Linked DNA regions of Homo sapiens: region 1 is linked to region 2. The links are contacts of gene promoters, found by promoter capture Hi-C in blood cells and fetal thymus (Javierre and others, 2016). All regions are on one chromosome and are shown on one strand. Each heading gives the region's core, a stretch centred on a gene start or on the middle of the fragment in contact. The rest is flanking DNA. Distances are from core to core; before and after follow the strand shown. Region 1 overlaps ZFAND4 (zinc finger AN1-type containing 4). Region 2 holds the start of TMEM72-AS1 (TMEM72 antisense RNA 1).

The links. The method cuts DNA at HindIII sites, captures the fragments that hold promoters and counts their contacts. A CHiCAGO score of 5 or more calls a contact.
Region 1: a contact is called between a fragment that was not itself captured here and the fragment with the promoter of TMEM72-AS1 in region 2, in 1 of 17 cell types (neutrophils). The highest score is 5.2, in neutrophils.

Annotation. Positions count from the first base shown.
Region 1 is chr10:45,665,809-45,668,951 of GRCh38, reverse strand. All of the region lies in intron 1 of ZFAND4 (zinc finger AN1-type containing 4), which reads left to right. Among named protein-coding and RNA genes, the nearest start is that of ZFAND4, 5.4 kb to the left of the region's middle. The HindIII fragment of the contact is 1,700 bases long and covers 670-2,369 here.
Region 2 is chr10:44,958,012-44,961,254 of GRCh38, reverse strand. TMEM72-AS1 (TMEM72 antisense RNA 1) reads left to right here and starts at 1,566. Exons shown (of 8, transcript NR_033842.1): 1 at 1,566-1,663. RASSF4 (Ras association domain family member 4) reads right to left here and starts at 1,453. Exons shown (of 11, transcript NM_032023.4): 1 at 1,389-1,453. RefSeq lists a silencer at 1,483-1,702 and an enhancer at 1,480-1,774. The HindIII fragment of the contact is 10,910 bases long and covers 1-3,243 here.

The DNA.
Region 1 (3,143 bases), core at 270-2,769, 710 kb before region 2:
CTTTCCTGCTTTCTCTTGTGGGCATTTAGTGCTATAAATTTCCCTGTACACACTGCTTTAAATGTGTCCCAGAGATTCTGGTGCGTTGTGTCTTTGTTCTCATTGGTTTCAAAGAACATCTTTATTTCTGCCTTCATTTCGTTATTTACCCAGTAGTCATTCAGGAGCAGGTTGTTCAGTTTCCATGTAGTTGTGCAGTTTTGAGTGAGTTTCTTAATCCTGAGTTATAATTTGATTGCACTGTGGTCTGAGAGACAGTTTGTTGTGATTTCTGTTGTTTTACATTTGCTAAGGAGTGCTTTACTTCCAGCTATGTGGTCAACTTTGGAATAAGTGCGATGTGGTGCTGAGAAGAATTTGCCAGACATTAAAATGTCTTTTAATTGGGGCATTTAGCCCACTCACATGTAAGGCTAATATTGTTATGTGTGAATTTGATCCTGTCTTTATGATGTTAGCTGGTTATTTTGCCCATTAATTGTTGCAGTTTCTTCACAGCATCAATGGTCTTTACCATTTGGCATGTTTTTGCAGTGGCTGGTACCGGTTGTTCCTTTCCATGTTTAGTGTTTCCTTCAGGAGCTCTTGTAAGGCAGGCCTGGTGGTGACAAAATCTCTCAGCATTTGCTTGTCTGTAAAGGATTTTATTTCTCCTTCACTTACGAAGCTTAGTTTGGCTAAGGCCAATATTACCCTGATACCAAATCCTGACAGACATAATGAAAACTACAGATCATCATCTCTTGTGATTATAGACACAGAAATCCTGAGGAAATATTTTCAGATCAAATCCATCAACATATGTAAAGGATTACATACCAGGTACAAATGGGATTTACCCCAGTAATGCAAGATTGATTTGACACATAAAAAGTAATGTAATATGTGAATAAAAAAGTAAAGAAAACCAAATGATTATTTCAATAGACAATGAAAAAAGCGTTTGATAAAATTGGCACCCCTTCATGATTAAAAAGAAAACCCACCTAAAGCAGGAATAGAAGGGAAGCTCGTCAACCTTATATTGGTAATCTATGAAAACCCCACGGTTAACATTATACCTAAAGACTCAATGGTTTCCTTCTACAATCAAGAATTAGACAAGGATGTCCAGTCTCACCACTTTTATTCAATCTTGTACTGAAGGTTCCAGAGCAGGGCAATTAGGCAAGAAAGGGAAATAAGCCCAGTGCAGTGGCTCAGGCCTGTAATCCCAGCTCTTTGGGAGGCCAGGGTGGGTGGGTCACCTGAGGTCAGCAGTTCGAGACCAGCCTGGCCAACTTGGTAAAACCTTGTCTCTACTAAAAATACAAAAATTTGCCTGGTGTGGTGGCAGGTGCCTGTAATCCCAGCTATTTGGGAAGCTGAGACAGGCGAATCGCTTGAACTCGGGAGGCGGAGGTTACAATAAGCGGAGATCGTGCCATTTCACTTCAGCCCGGGCAACAGAGTGGGACTTTCACCCCCTCCAAAAAAAAAAAAAAAAAAAAAAAGAAAGAAAAGAGCATATAGATTAGAAAGGGAGAAGTAAAACTCTATTTGTAAATGACATGATCTTGTATATAGAGCTTTTATAGAGAGCGTTTAGGAAGATTTAAATAACTAAATGAACGAAATAAACAGTTCAGCACAGTTGCAGTGTACAGGATCAAGATATTAAAATCGGTTGTGTTTCTATAAACCAGCAATGAGCAATCTGTAAATAAGACAGTGATTCCATTTGTAATAGCATTTAAAGGAATAAAATACTTAGGAATAAATTTAATAAAAGAGAACAAAACTTGTGCTTTAAAAATTATAAAACATTGAAATAAATTAGATATAAACTGAAAAATAGTATGTATTTATGGATTAGAAGACTTAGTATTAAGATTGCAGTACTCTCCAAATCTACAGACTTAATACAATCCCTGTCAAAATCCCAGCTGACATTTTTGCAAAATGGGCATACTTAAAATTCATATGGCAATTCAAGGAGTCCAGAATAGCCAACAATCTAAAAAGAACAAATTGGAGGCCTCACACTTCCTGATTTCAGAACTTACTACAAAGCTACATTAATTAAGATGTGGTGGTACTGGCATAGGTAGATCAACAGAATAAAGAGTCTGGAAATAAACCTTCACATTTACAGTAAATTGGTTTTTAACAAGGATCCAAGACAATTCAATTGGGAATGAATGGTAATTCTGACAAATGATACTGGAACAACTGGTTATCCACATGCAAAAGAATAAAGTTAGACTCTACCTCACACCATACACAAAACTAAATTGAAATTGGACAGTACACCTAAACATAAGAGCTAAAACTACAATTTTTAGAAACATATATAAGTCAATCTTTATTACCTTGGGTTAAGCCAAGCTTTTTAAGTATGATAAAAGAAAAATAGCCAAATTAGAGTTTAACAAAATTAAAAACCTTTGTGTTTCAAAAGATACTATCAAAAGACAACCCACAAAATGAGAGAAAATATTTACCATTCATATATCTGTTAAGTGTTTTTATCTAGAATATGTAATATAAAAACTCATACAACTCAATAAAAAATCCAATTAAAAAATAGACAAAGTATATGAATAGGCATTTCTCCAAAGAATGTATGCAAATGGCCAATAATCACATAAAAAAGATGCACAATATCATTAGTTTTTAAAGAAATGGAAGTCAACCACAGTGAGATACTACTTCACACCCACTAGGATAGCTTTAATCAAAAGGACAGAAACAAGTATTGTCAAGGGTGTGGAGAAATTGGCACCCTCATTCATTGTTGATGGGACTATAAAATGATCCATACCATTTAGAAAACAGTTTGGTAGTTCCACAAATTGCCAAACATAAGAGTTACCACATTATCTAGCAAAGCTACTTCAAAGAGAAAGGAAAACATATGTTTACACAAAAACTTGCAGTTGAATGTTCATCTTAGCACTATATGTAACAGCCCAAAATTGGAAACGACTCAAATGCTCATCAACTGATGGATGGATAAACAACATGAGATATATTGCTACAGGGGACTATTATTCAGCAATAAAAAGGAGTGAAATACTGATATATCCTAGAACATGATGAACTTTGAAAACATTATGCTAAGTGAAAGAAGCCAGTCACAAAAAAATCATATATGATTCTAT
Region 2 (3,243 bases), core at 317-2,816:
CCTGAGTTTCAGACAGACACTTTAATCTGTAGCATCAACCTTTTTGTTGTCAAATCACCAGCACTACACACTGAGAGAATTATGGCTAGAACTAATGACAACAGCCTTCACATACACTGACAAAGTGCTGAAACAGCCCATGACAATTTCCGGCCAGCATTTTTTTAACCTAAGTTTAATGAGTTTCATCTCTCCTCTTCCCTCCCTTCCTCTTTCTCCTCTGACCCTCTCCCTTCCTGTCTTCTCCCCTAACCTGCTGTCCTGGCAGAAGTAGCTAAGGAACCACACAGAGGAACAGAAGGCAGGATGGTCTACATTTACCTGTTACTTCACCAATTCACTTCTAACTTAAAAAAAAATGGTTTCTGGCAACAAATCCTGATTGACACCTTAGTACTGTGGGCAGTTAAACTACAGCAAAGCCAGCGAGGGGCTCCTCTGTGAGTGCAAAGCATAGCTTTGGAGTCTAACCTGCTTGGGTTCAAATTCCAGAAGCCCAGCCCTTATTTGCTGTGCGACCTTATTTAATTCCTATGTGAAATGGGGCTCCTGAAGCTGTCCTTACTGTGTTTTAAGAAAGTGCTGGCCCTGGCCTGGGCACTGATTCTGGTGTGAGAGGAGGCCTCCCTCCCTCCGCCGTGCCAGGTTAATGAAAACACTGAGGCATGTTTTGGAAGTGGGAAGTGCAGGATGGGACCGGAGTCAGGAGCCCAGAAGAGCAGGGCAGCAGGCAGGCTGACCTTCGGAGACTAAGGGTGAAGAGCAAGAGACTCAGGGGCACAACAAGCCCTGGGTTCAAATCCTGGCTCCATCACCAACTCATCCGGTAAAGGTGGACAATTTTATAACTCTTTAAGCCTCAGTTTTCACATCTGAAAAGGGGATAACGAAAGTAGGACTCTCACTTGCTGTGAGGAGTAAGAGGCATATCGTGTTAAAGCACTTGGCCCAGAGCAAGGCGAGCCCTCTACAGACAGCGATTGTGAGACAGACCCCCCCTGCTGCTATTATCTTGGCGTTCGATTTCCATCAGTGAAATCAGAGTTGTGCCAGAGGCCTCTAGGCTCTCTCCCCAACTCTAGGATCAGTGCTTCTAGGAAACTGGTTAAGGACAAGGTGAACAAAAAAGGTGTAGCCAGTGGCCGGGCTCATCTGTCTTGCTCAGGTTGTAGCCCCTAAATTGCTTAACAGAGGTGCCAGGCGCAGTGCCCCCTCTCAGCAATGAGCCCGAGGCCCGCAATGCGCCAGGCTGGCGGGGGAGGGACCCTGCGCGCTGCGGCCGAAGGGCACAAGTGCCCAGGCTTCAGCGTCCCTGCCTGGTGGCAGTCCTGGGTCGGAGGGGATGCTCCATGGACGCCCAAGCACTCTCCTGCTCGTTCATCACTCACCGTCCAGTCATCGCGCAGTCCAGAAGCCACTGCATGTGTCGTGTCCTCGCTTGCACCGGAGCTGCGCCCGCAGCGCCTGCTGACCCCAGGCTTCAGCTGCTCGGGGCCAGGCCCGCCCCTCGCCCCGCCCCTCGCCCCTCGCCCCGCCCCGCTCCCCGCCTCTCGCCCGGCACGGCCAAAGGTGCCGCCCCGGTCTCTCCGTCCCGCCCCGAGCACGCCCCTCACTCCGCACCGGCCAATGGCACCGCCCCGTCCGCCCCGCTCTGGGAACGCCGGTAGGTTCCGGGTGCAGGGCGGTGGCCTAGGGGCGGCGGGGAAGATTTGGGGCCTGCGACCTGCCAGGTGTCCCCAGGCCATTGTTCAGCTCGCCGCGCGCTCCCGAGTTCCCGAGGGCGCCCCGGGACGCGAGGAGAAAGCAGCCCGACTCAGCCCCGAGAGGTTCGGTGTGCGGGCAGCGGCCAGGGACTTTGCGGGGTAGCGCGGACTCCTGGACTTCCAACAAGGGCCGCTGCGCAGGCGCTGCAATCACTGCAGGCACTTGTCTGCATGCCTGGTGGGGCTTGGAGTCTGGGGAGGCTTATCAGTAAAGCCCAGAGCATTTGCTATTTATTGCTCAAGGGGCACCTTTGTACAGTCTGGCCGTTTGCTTGGCATGGCCTCTTAGAACTCCTTATTGTTTAAGAAATCCGATCTGGTGAATAAGAAGTTAGTCTTTCTCTCCCAGTCACTGCCTCCTGGACGAATATTTGCCAGCACGGAGGCAGAGAGGACAGAAAACCACAAGCCATTTGGGGAACTGGGAACAGTTCAGTGTTTCTGGGGTGTGGGGGTGTCAAGGTGGGGGATGGGGTTGATGGAAAACATTTGCAATTTCTGCTTTACCTCACGATTCCCAGCTCTGACCTCTGGACCTGTTCTCTCCCACCCCTAACATAAATCATTTTAGTTTCATTCAGTGTGCGTTTCCTAATATTTTTAGGGTCTCATGGCCATTTTAGAATCTGATATGGATCTTCTAGAAAGTGCAGGTGGCCATATGCACCAAAATCAGCCTGGGATTTGAGTCTCATGGGTCCCTGAACTTCGACTTAGAGGGGCTGTGCTAATGCTTGTATGGCTGCTGTATGACTTATGTTGGAACCCCCACCTGCAAAAAGTGACAGGACTGAAGATACCCAGTCCAGGGGCCCTCCCGTTTCTGCGTTTGCTTGAATTTTTGGAGAATGGCCCATCCTTTGACAGCTCTGAGGCTCCCTGTGGTTGGTGACTTGTCATGACACATTTGCTCTTCCACAGCCCTCATCAAAGCTGAGACAAATAATCGGGTGCTTCCAAAGGTTTTTTAAAAGTGGGTAAAATTCAATATAACTGTCAACCTCTGAGCATGAGATCCTAAGAATTTAATCACTCCTGATAGGAGAAGTAAACATAGCACCAGGGTGACATAACAGTTTCCCTGGGCTCTCCAGAACTCGAGTGTGAATCATTCTCTCTGACCTAATTAATGCTGTTCACAGGGCCATGACTGGCTCTGAGTGAGGACTGGGTTTGGGACAGCAACCCCATGTGTCCTGTGCACCCATTGTGGGCTCAGACACTATGCTAGTGCTTTACATTGGGGATCCCATGCAATTCCCCCAGCACTCCTGGGCAGTTGGTGTTACTGCTTGCATTTTTTAAAATTTCCATTTTTATTTTAAATTTAGGGGATACACGTGCGGGTTTGTTACAATTGTACATTGTGTGGTACTGAGGTTTGGGATTGATCCTGTCACCCAGATGGTGAGCATAGTACCCAATAGGAAGTTTTTCACCCCTCGCCCCGCTGTCTCCCTCCCACTTTTGAAGTCCCCAG